Linked DNA regions of Homo sapiens: regions 1, 3 and 4 are each linked to region 2. Evidence: promoter capture Hi-C in 16 types of primary human blood cells and fetal thymus (Javierre and others, 2016). All regions are on one chromosome and are shown on one strand. Each heading gives the region's core, a stretch centred on a gene start or on the middle of the fragment in contact. The rest is flanking DNA. Distances are from core to core; before and after follow the strand shown.

The links. Contacts are between HindIII fragments. The CHiCAGO score rates a contact against its expected background, and 5 or more counts as called.
Region 1: a fragment that was not itself captured here is called in contact with the fragment with the promoter of COPS2 in region 2 in 4 of 17 cell types (monocytes, M2 macrophages, M0 macrophages and 1 more); the score reaches 7.7 in monocytes.
Region 3: a contact is called between a fragment that was not itself captured here and the fragment with the promoter of COPS2 in region 2, in 1 of 17 cell types (neutrophils). The highest score is 5.1, in neutrophils.
Region 4: a contact is called between a fragment that was not itself captured here and the fragment with the promoter of COPS2 in region 2, in 2 of 17 cell types (monocytes and M0 macrophages). The highest score is 5.7, in monocytes.

Annotation. Positions count from the first base shown.
Region 1 is chr15:50,054,940-50,057,905 of GRCh38, reverse strand. All of the region lies in intron 3 of ATP8B4 (ATPase phospholipid transporting 8B4 (putative)), which reads left to right. Among named protein-coding and RNA genes, the nearest start is that of ATP8B4, 63 kb to the left of the region's middle. The HindIII fragment of the contact is 2,591 bases long and covers 240-2,830 here.
Region 2 is chr15:49,154,234-49,156,986 of GRCh38, reverse strand. It overlaps COPS2 (COP9 signalosome subunit 2), which reads left to right and starts at 1,388. Exons shown (of 13, transcript NM_004236.4): 1 at 1,388-1,462. The coding sequence starts at 1,409. It also overlaps a transcript of GALK2 not described here and the pseudogene NDUFAF4P1. RefSeq lists enhancers at 436-1,354, 1,113-1,642. The HindIII fragment of the contact is 2,527 bases long and covers 1-2,257 here.
Region 3 is chr15:50,004,487-50,007,468 of GRCh38, reverse strand. All of the region lies in intron 7 of ATP8B4 (ATPase phospholipid transporting 8B4 (putative)), which reads left to right. Among named protein-coding and RNA genes, the nearest start is that of ATP8B4, 110 kb to the left of the region's middle. The HindIII fragment of the contact is 5,134 bases long and covers 1-2,982 here.
Region 4 is chr15:50,125,772-50,128,534 of GRCh38, reverse strand. It overlaps a transcript of ATP8B4 not described here. Among named protein-coding and RNA genes, the nearest start is that of ATP8B4, 7.9 kb to the right of the region's middle. The HindIII fragment of the contact is 2,718 bases long and covers 1-2,611 here.

The DNA of each region.
Region 1 (2,966 bases), core at 286-2,785, 900 kb before region 2:
GGAGAAAAAAAAATTAGTGTGATTAAATTAATCTCAGAGGGAAATTTAATTTGTTCCCCTGATAATTATCCAAAATTAGTTCTTTGTAGATAAATTACTATTCCTAGGCCATTTACTAGCTCTAGAACTGTCTTTCAGACACTGGAACCCTAAATTAAGGCTGGAAGGTAGAAAAGAGAACAAAGTTTGTGATGCTGTCAGGCAGATTTGCTTTGTGGGGAGACAGAGGCCTGAAAGCTTTCCTGGCCACTATCTCTGTTCCTGGGGTCTAGATGGAAAATGAGCTCCCTAGACAAGCCCAGCAATGTTCTCCCTAGATTGAAAGGACTGGAAGTGACTGCTCCAGCTGATTGAATTAATGTGAGCTCTTCACTGTGCTTTAGTTTAGAGAGGTTCTGTTCTTCACCAGAGTGAAGGATGTCGGATGAGGGCCAGTGAGTCCATTAACCAAAAGGCAGTCTAGAGACTTCCTAGTTTCTGACTCGTTGCTCACGAAACACCATTTGGGAGAACACAGGATTGTACAATACTTGCTTTTATGGGCAACCCTCACAACTGTTCAAAGCCTCAGTTTCCTCATCTGTAAAATGGTGCTGAAATAGTCACAGCTCATTGGATTTTTTAAGGACTGCCTGAGATGATATAGTGTTCAGCATAGCGCCTGGAGATGGAAGGAGGCAATACCATTATCTGGTGTCACTGTATGACCCAGAGAATCTATGACATAGAAAGTTATATGTTCTCCATTATGTGCCCAAGTCTTAGTGACATGAGATCTAAAAGGAGGAGGCACAGATGAGCTCCTTTGTCCATAAGTGTTTAGTCCACAGTTTTCAAAGTTTATGAGCATGTTCCTCACTTGTAAAAGAAAATTAAATCTGACCGAATGTGGTGGCTCATACCTGTAATCCCAGTTCTGTGAGAGGCCGAGGTGGGAGGATCACCTGAGGCCAGGAGTTCGAGATCAGCCTGGGCAACATAGCGAGACTCTGTCTCAATAAAAAATAAAAAAATAAAAAGAAATTAATCTATATGTGTGTATACATATAGACAATGCATAGATTGTCTTTACTGTTAATATTTATATGTGTGTATACACATATATGCATGTGTGTACTATATGTTTTTACTATAGATAATATAGATATTATATTGTCTTTGCTATAGGTGTGTGTGTGTGTGTGTGTGTATATATATATATATACACATATACATATACATATATTGTGTATAGTAATTAAATGTTAGTAACTTTAACATTTTTAGTTAAAATATACATGAAGTTCTTTTTTATTTCTCATAGCCCAAAGGATTCTTTTGGGCACCCAGGAAACGAGCACCCCTAGGGGACACGTATTCCCACTGGTCTCACCAAGTAGGGTAATCTTGATACTGCATTAACCTGGAAAATCAAGCAAGAAGGCTTCCTGAGGGAGTCTTGGCAGGCAAGGTGCTCTTGCTCTATTGTTCATTGTTTTTGTCATAGTATTTGATGATCACCTCCTGAAATTGTGTCATCAGTTTACAAGTTTATTGTCTGCTTGTTCCTGCCTCTCTCTCCACAACTAACATACAAACTTACTCGATGATGGGAGGGTCTTTGCTTACTCATGTCTGTAGCCCTGGCTCAATAACATTATTGCCTGAAGCACAGAAGGACTTTAACAAAAATTAGTTGAATGAATGAATGAATGAATGTTGGGGGATATGTGCCCTCTGCTCTTTGCCTCCTCATACACGTTTTCTGCTCAAGTCTGGGAGCTGAGGCTCAGGAGAACGTTAAGATGATGGTGGTGGTGGTGGTGGTGATGATGAGTGTAGTCAGTATTGATTGACACACTCTGCAAAGCCTCTTCTGTGATTGAGGCTTCCTCAGCAGCGTTCGTAGAAGAGCACTGTCGTCTTTCCATTGCCCCTATCCTGGAAAGCTGTGGACTCTGCACCAGGCAACAGTCAGCTGATACTGAGGAACTACCAGGGGTTCTTCCTGGTATCAGTGAGGTACCAGATGTCTAATCTCCAGGTCCCATACATGCATTCTTTTGGGTTCTTTGCATGAACATGGGTAATTCACATATTTTCTGAGCGGTACAAATGCCTTTTGGCTACTTCCTCTTTTATGCCAGTAGTTTGTGGACACAATCCCTTTTTGTTTTTTATTTTATGGCTTAGAGATAATCTCTCCCTTATTAGTCAGGATTATTTCTGTCTCTGGAATCTGGATTGTACCATAAAAATACTGTATTTGCCTCCTTTTGTGGCAAGAAGGGCTAGATGTTTTCCCCCTCAAGCTCTGGAAGGTTACTTTTTATAGTTGTCATGATGTACAAATGTTTCATCAAATGTGGGATGATGATTTGATAGTGAGGAAACTGTGGTACTGATTGCAAAAGCTCCTGGGGCTTGTGGGATTCATAGACGTAGGCAGTGTCTCTGGACAACTGCTGAGCTCATTTGGGTTTAAGCCTTCTGGGATGCATTCTTTAAGACAAACATAGAGATACAAGTAAGCTATTATTTAAAAAGCAAACTGATCTTGCATATATTATGAATGTTCTTACCTGGTGTTTGGTTGGTTGAGAGTAAAAGAAAAACCAACTCAAATTGACTTAGTTTGAGTTGAATGGACAGATCATGTAGCTGAAAAGTCCAGAGATAGGGCTAGTCTCAGGAGAGGCTTGGTCTAGTTTCTTTCTCTGCATTTCTTGGCCCTGCATTTTTAGTGCGGAGTTTGTTCTTGGCAGCCTCCCCACTCATAGCCCCAAGTTGCTGTTAGTAATCTCTAGGGCTACTTGTTTCCAGATTGGAATGCAATAGAAAAGAGAAAGCTTACATTATCAGCAAATTTCAGAATTGACGTAGTTTATGTGCCAGTGTCTGAATTCAAAATTGTAATTAGGAGGGTGGGCCATGTACTTGCCTTAAGCTAATTTGACCCTGGAATTATGGATGGGAGATGAATCTAT
Region 2 (2,753 bases), core at 139-2,638:
TCAATAAATATTAAGAGGATGCTCTCACAATGAGAGCATTAAACACTTGGTAATTAACATAATTTAATATGCAAAAATAAGAAAATATACAGGATGAGGGATGAGGAGTACACATAGGAAATTTTTGTGATTTTCTTCATTTTGATTGTATTGCTTTCTTGTCTTCAGGAGGGAAGATTTTGACTTCAAAAGTAACAAAATATTTAAGAAGGGAATTCACATCTTTCTGTTCTAAATGATATTCTTGCGCTATTTTCTCAGCAGTTCATGTTTCTGGATAAAGTTTATGATTATTGAAAAGTGTCAATGCTTCTACAGTGGAAATTTTGCCTTTGGGAATGCTCTTAATATTTATCATATCAAAGTGATGGCCTTTCGGCAATCTGAATTTCTTTGGCTCCTGACGTGTTTCAGCAGCTTTCAGCTGCACGGAAGACACAGGATCTTTGGAATCAACACACACATATTTTAGAAATGACAGCAGCTTGTCATCTTTACGAGCAATCTCTCCCTTAATTTCTGGATAGAGACTAATCTGCTCTGGCAGGAGGCTGCTGGTAGAGGGGTGCCTGGGAGCGAGAGAGGGCTTCATGTTGCGGATTTCCCTTTCCGCTCGGTTCTCTTGAAATTCCTGATCCCGCGAGTCACCGCAGCCCCCATCTCCTTACAACATGATGCCCTCAGGTTCACAGTAATGTATTTTTTAAAAACCAGTCGTTGTTACCTTAATTTGGTCCCAAGGGCTGTAAAGGTCAGTTTACAACTCGTTGAACAACTGAGTAAGATTTAAGGCAACTCAACTGATAGCTGCATACCTAATTTAGGATATCCATAGAATTGTTTTGTCAACTACAAATATAACAAGCATTAAGTGTAAACTGTGTTGCTGAAAAGTACTCCAAGTATCTTAGGAACACCCACCGCAATGTGTGGGCTAAATGCACACGTACAATGATAGCAGAAATAATACCTGTCATATAGGACGGGCATGTCAGCCTTTTCTCCGCGAAAGGCTTCTGGTCCTAAGCTGTCCCTTACTTTCACCGGAATGAGATGCGTCCAGAGTCCCAAGCAAGGGAGGAGACTGCTCCTTTACCCAGGAGGCTGGAAACTGCTCGATGCGAGCGCAGTTTCCGACGCCCTTCGGCTGAGACCTGCAGCACCGGACGATGTCCCAGTTGCCAGCTTTAGTTGCTAAGGCACCAACCACTTCGGAGGAAACGGGGGGTGGTGCAGTCTCTTTTGGAGTCGTAGCGAATCAGCTACAAGTCGAGATAATTAGTTCCGGCAGGAAACAGCTCCTCTAAGAGGGACTGGAAGGCGGAAAGAAGCTGAGAGTGACGCCTCTGAGCCGCGGAGGATTGTGGGAGGAGGTTGTCTCCAATTTCTCCTCCCCCTCCCGGCCAAGATGTCTGACATGGAGGATGATTTCATGTGCGATGATGAGGAGGACTACGACCTGGTGAGGCGCAGGGAATGGAACTCTGAGGGTGGTGATGTGTCTTGTTTTCGGGGTCCGGGCCGGGGCGCCCGCGGCCTCTCCCCGTAGAGCATGTGCCGTTTACAGCCTCTCTCAGTGCGGTGACAGGACTGGTTTACCTCCTCCCCGTTCCCGCACCGGGCCCGGGCCCTGCTTCTCCAGCATGGGGGAAGGGAGGGCAAAGGAGGCAGCGAAGGGGGCCCCGGGCCTTGCCCTCCGAGTCTGAGCGCCTCTTCGGTTTACACGGATGCCCCTGGTCCCAGGCGTTCGGTTCTCTGTCTTCTGCCTCCCCACCGCGCTAGCCGCCTCGGTGACCATGCTGCGGTGTAGGCCCTGGCTTTGCCCTTTCGGGCCCAGCGTTCCGGGCCCCCACTTCTTCACACTGGAACTGAGCGGGTGCGAAATGCTAGGAGAAGTCAGAAAACGGGGGTGTCCTTACTGCTCCCAGGCCTGACTGCGAAACGCAACTTGTGAGTCTCCTGGAGACATAGCTTAAATAGTCTTGCCAGGGCCAGTTTTGGTCCGAGGTAAGTGTGTAGGGGAGAGTTCAGAGCAAAGATAACTGAAAAAAAGGTAGTCGAACCACTTTTTCAGTTCTTTATAAAGAAAAGCTGGGGAGGAGGTTTTGCTTGTGGTGTTTTTGGAGGACGGGTGAAAGATAATTGAACCCATGGCTTTTCCCTTAGAAATTTCCCAGTATACAAAGTTTAAAACAGCAACAGCATAGAAATAAACGAATTTTTCTGACCGAATGGAGATTTTTAAAGATTCAAAGCTTCATTTATTAATGGATTTGCAAGTTTGAATAACGTTTGCTATTCAAAAACATCGTGTGGAAACTCAGAAAATTATCTTGATCCAGAATTAACGTCAATTTTGCTGTGTTTCTTTATTTTGGGGGTGTTTCATATGGTTCTTTTATGGTGATGCTGCATTATCATAAAGTTACGAAATAGATGTTTTGGGACGTCTGACTCATTTTAAGTGCCAGAGATTGTCAAAATATTAATACATTGTTTTGAATTAGTCTATAACTTTTTCGTATATATTTTCAGTTTTTTGCATTTTAAAATAAGGCACACTTTGCAAAAGGGAGAAAGGAAATTCTCGCTATTATTTGAAAGTCATAGTAGAGATTTTTATAATTTTTAAAGTTAAATGTAGTTTCGCTAATAGTTATGGTTTCTACCTTACATTTTAGTTTGTGCAAGCCAGTTGTAGGCAGTGACTTCAGTTCATTAAGAATATGTATCTGTCCATTTTTACTTATTAC
Region 3 (2,982 bases), core at 220-2,719, 850 kb before region 2:
TGCCGTCAAACAGCTCGCCAATGGGACATTCAGGAGTTAAGTCTATGCAATGTAGCTCAAGTGCCTCCACTTCTAACCACTACCATTTGCTGTTCCTTACTCCATTGGAACAGTCATCCTCATTGACTTGAGTCTGGGCTACCAGAGTTAGGGGCTCTTGGCTTGGATGCTGGAAGCCAAGTGATCAGAAAATATGTTGTGCCCAGTGCAGATGCATAACTTCTAGCTGTTCGAACTTAGAATTTGCAACCTGATTTATGTCAGTTTATCAGTAAATTTTAAGCAAGGAAAAAAGCTCACCGGAGATTGCCAATTAGCTGGCATATTCAGAAGTTACTTACCTTTTATTTATTTTTATTTATTTATTTTTTTTATGTTCTGCATTTGTATGTACATTTTAAAATTCAAGAATACTTGTGGGCTGAATTGCCAGAATTCCTAGTTTTTTGGAAGGACCAGGAAAAATGCAGAGTATAATTCAGATACCACAAGGAGTCTGACTTGCATTAGAAGAACCAAATAAATTTTGTTAGAAAAACATACTGCAGAGTTCCTGATACCACCGGAACTCGGACCGTGGGAGCCAGGTGTACCTTTCTCCTTCACTGGACAGCAGTACTCTTGTGTTGTTTCACTTTTCTTAGCTGATGGTAGAAATAAAATCCTTACTTGGCATGAGCATATTTGAACATTACTAGAATTGAGTTGTTTAGCTTGTTTGAAAAGTCCTTCCTTTCCCTTCACAAAAAGGCATTCATAGAATTGTTGTTTTAAAACCAAGGCATTCTTCTGATAGAGGAATTGACAATTTTATTCTTCGGAAATGATAGGGCTAGAATGATTAATTTGACCTAAACTCCAGGCGTGACTGGGGTGGGCTTTTGCTCTTTCTTGACTCATCAGGGAATTTCATCTGTTCTTTTTCAACACCTATCTTGGACACACTTCCAGAGAGGCCTTTTTTTTTTTTTTTTTTTTTGGTGGTCTCATTGCCCTCATTGCTCTTTTAAGTTTTATAACTTCACGTCAGAGTTGCTTGTTGTTCCAACCTATTTGCTGTAAGTAAACCATCTCTATCTTTCTATCTCTTTCTGTCTCTCTCTCTGATATATATCTATTTGTCATATTTATATGACAGTAGAAAGTGGGGGTAAAATATTCAGGCAAGGATTTTTTTTTTTTTTGACTAGAGGAACAGCCTGCCTGTTAATAAATTTTATGATGTCCATTATTATTCTCAGCCTTCCTTCTCTTCTTTGTCACCATCTTTTTCTTATTCTTCTCAAATCACTGTAATTAGAAAAACAATGATGTATCCCGTACATATTAGTAATCAATATGCATTTATTGGACCTGAAATTTAAATTTTAAATACAAACGTTACCTATTACCATATAAACTTCATTTTTAGGATCTCATTCTCATTTTTTGACTCAATGCATGAGGTATTTGGTTTATTTTTATTTTTAGATTAAAATAAAAGATAATGTTGTAGATGATAGAGAAGATGAAGAACTCTGTGTGAGAATGGCCTAAAAAATAAAAGGCGATCCAAAAGTGTTCAACTTAATTCTACAAATTTATCTTTCCATCAGGTCATGGAGCCACAATCCAAATATTCTTTCACCATTGTAGTTTTGATTTTTGAACACCAACAAAGCAAAACAAAACATAAAACAAAGTGAAATACTTTCTGTTTTTCGTAGTTGTGTTCCAGTGATTTAGTAGCCCACCAGAGGAAAAGAGCATACATTTTGGGATCAGAAGTTCTAAATTCTAATTCCAGCTCTGCAATTTAAGCTATGAGTGTCCATGAGGATTGTGTTAAGTCTCTTGGGCCCTTGGGTTCCTCAATGACTTTGGAAGGGCCATGGGCTTTACATGAGTTAATTTAGTTCTTCTGGTGGGTGTGGTAGAGTCTATTCCTCCCTCACTCCTGGGCCAGATATGACCTCCTGGGTTCCTCATCCATACAATGGGAATAATACTACTCACTCACAGGGTTGTGAAGAGAGTAAAACGACACAATTATGAGAGAGGGTTTTATAAATCCTTAAAGAATTGTACAGCTTTAGGGTGTTATCATTGCTTTACATTTTACTTTATTCTTTAACTCAACAAATATTTATTATGCCTAATAACCCTATGAGGACAATGTCTTTGGCTCTGAGGACCCAAATATGTTCAGTGCATTCTTTTCAGATTCCTTCTGATGGGAATATTTGTTTTCTGTTGCCCATGGAAGTTGGGGAAGGGGCGTTGTGTTGGAAAACACTGGTTCCTTCATGAAGAACATAGCAGAGCCTCTCCTGGCAGAGCAAGGAGAAAAGGCATGAATAATTCACAAAAGAAAGTAAATATGGGGCATATGATAGGTGGTTCTGATCAGAATTAATGATATCCTGGCCCACTTGTGAGTTTGGATATTCACGCTTTTCCTTTCCTCTTCTTTACTCCTGCTAGTCATTCTGCCTTGGGGACTTCCTTTCACTGCATCTAGAATATTCCATGATGCCCTTCCTCAACTACCAACCCAACGTTGCACTCTCATTTGCACTCCTTTCATAGCACTTTGTTAATGAGGCTCTTAGAAACCTTATATTCTGCCTTTATTAAACTATACAAATCCTTGAAGCAAAGAGATTTTTACTCATTTTGGTATCCCTTGCAGTATATGCCTCATACTGTATGCCCAGATTCAAATCCTGGCTCCTACCCTTACTGTGTAACCTTGAGGAAGTTACAGAAGCCCTCTGGGCCTTACTTTGCTCATCTGTAAAGTGGAGATAACAATAAGACCTGCGTTACAGGATTTCTGTGAATGTTAAATAAAATAGCGCATGTGAAGCTCTTAGGATGGTGCTGGACACATAGTAAACCCTAACTAAATATCAGCTACGTTATTTGGAATCATAAACACCTACACCTGGAACACAAGTTTCTGGATCAACTAGGAATTGGGTCCCCGTAGGATTTACTGGA
Region 4 (2,763 bases), core at 3-2,502, 970 kb before region 2:
AGTGGGAGCCTTGGATCCATGCCAGGTCCTCTGGATTCTCTTTGCACAAGCAGATCTTGTCATTTTGGCCCAGGCCTTGCCCTTCATCAGCCACAAGGAGGCAGGAACATAGCCTCAAGCATCTGCAGCCACCTTTCTCCTCCAGTGTTCCATACTGCTCCCAGCTTTGCTGGATCTGATGCTCTGATGGAGAAGGGCACCCTTCAGACCCAAAGGAAATGGGTGCTTAGCCTAGATTTTCCATGTGACTCCAACTCTCTGGATGTTTCTAAAGCCAGCTCCCTCTTGAAGTTTAGCTCTGAAGCTAGGAAAACCCAGGACTCTGGTGTCTGTCTCCATGATTCCCCTTCTTTCGCTGGTCTCTGGCATGACTTAACTCCATAAGTGTTCCTCCTGCTTTTCTGGGGTGATATTAATTCCTTCTTTCCTTGACAGACTGGATACAAAACGAAACACTGGCTTACTCAAAAGAGAAGCTCTGAAGGTAGCACCTTCCTTACCCTGAAATGCACAGAAACATGGGGTTGCACAAGAAGTAGCTCCATCATCTGCTCATCTGCTGTAGCTCCTGGGCCTTGAGACTGGGGCACACTCTACCTAAAGATGGCTCAGCATTGGTGGGGATGTGTGCAGAACCACAGTGAGGCACACCTTGGTATTGTTCATCTGAAATTAATATTTCTTCAAAGACAGACCTTACTGGTGTTTGTTCCTCTCCCTATGTATAATGGGATATCTCTAGAGGACAGGATGGTCCTAGAGCTGCCTTGAACAGTTTTATCTCCCTCCTGCCATCCGATGCTTTAACCTCCTGCTCCAGTGCAGTCTTCTAGTTCTGTAGGATCAATTTCTTTGCAATCGGTATTATAGCACAAGCTGCAGCAGTTTATTTATCTAAGAGAGAATGCGTCTAGGTTGCTATCCTCAGAGATAGTGTGTATAAGGCAACATTTGAGGCCTCCATGACTCAATTCTTGCCTAATCTTTGCCTGGTCTCTGATCCATTAGGACCTAGAAATTACATTGACTGATATACTGAGATGATGGCAAACTCACCTTTGCTCTCCACATTCACGATTGCTGTGGGATGTATGTTTGTGACTCACTCAAGCCATTTAGAATGGAAGCCCAAGTCACAGTAGAGGAAGGCCATTGTTACTGAACTGAACATGGGTCAGTTAATCTGCCTGCCCATGCAGCAAAGCCAAATACTAACACTGGGATTGATTTGCAGTGAGGAAAAGTGAAGCATTTATTGCAGGGTGCTATGCAAGGAGAATTGGGCAGCTAATCTTAAAACCCAAACCCCTTGATGGCTTCCATGTAAGAGTTTTTAAAGGCAGGGAGGCAGAGGTTCCAGGCAGAGCCATAAATCAATACATGGAGGCTATTGGTTTGACCTAAAAAGGGGGAGACATCTTGAAGTGGGGGTCCACAGGTTACAGGTAGATTCAAAGATTTCCCGATCTGCGATTGGTTAAGATTTGTTTAAAAACTTGGGGTCAGCAGAAAGGAATGTTGAACTCTGGCCTGTAGGTATAACTTCTGCCAGGCCCCTCAGGAAGAAATTTAGAATGAAGAACAGTGGTCAGATTTCAGTCTCCAGTTCCCCCTTCCCCAAGGTCTGTTGTGCCAGTGGATGGTGTTTTCCATTTGGTGGCGGGGGGGTGTGGGGGCTGTGGGCAGGTTTCTGCAAAACAGCTCAGGGACATATGTTAAGATGTTATTTTTAGTTTCTATTGGGACTCTAACTTCTTTGGCTATTGTTTCAAGCTATTATTACCTCCTTGCTTATCAGATTGCCTGCCACCCTCCACCAAGCATGGAAATAAAGGAAAATCTTGCGTTTCTTCAATGGAAATTCCAGGCACCTAGCTAGTCCTGAGAATTAAATGAGCAACTTGATAAGTAAGAGAGTAATAGTAGCTTAAAATAATAGCTAAAGAAGTTATAGTCATAAGATGTTTGGTTCTCTACAGAAGCTAAAGATAACATCTTGACATATGACCCTGAGTTTACTTTTCAGAAACTCGGACCTCCACCAAATGGAAATCTTTCTTGCACAAGGTCCAGGAACCTTCTCTTGGGATCTGGATTGGGATCCCTTTCCAGTAACAATATCAGGTCATCGGGACATTTCCTGGGTCTGTTCAGTAAACATTATTAACCTGTTCCCTTAACTGAAACTGTGTCTAAGAATGACTAATCTTCTGGGAATGTAAGATGGAGTTGCTCTGGTTCAAAGGCCTTGGACGCCTCTGACAGTATTAGTGAAGTGTTTTTTTTTTTTTTTTGGACTGTTAGCTTGTTAGGAACTAACAAGACCCTCCCTAACTCATCTACTCATCTTTCAGGACTCAGCTTCACTTGTTCTGAGGGTTTCCCGTGACACCTCCACACCCACACTGAAATATGGCTTCCCCTCTCCTGTAGTTCCGAAGCCTGTTTGGACAAGGGACACCTAAATTAGAGTTACTATCACATTGTGTCACAATTTGTTCACAACTATTTTCTCTTCCACTAGAAGGATTCTTGTTAGGGCAGATATCGACCTAAAAGAAAGAATCCCAGGCAAAATAGATATAACTAGAGGGTTTATTTGGGCCAAGCTTGAGGATTGCAACCTGGGAGCATAGATTCAGTTTTCTGCAGTTACAAGCTGTAGCAGCAGTTACAAGCAGGTTTTTAAAGAAAAGAAGAGGCAGTTTCTAAGTTGTTTACCAAGAATTTACATTAAAAATAACATAAGTTATTGATTGGCTA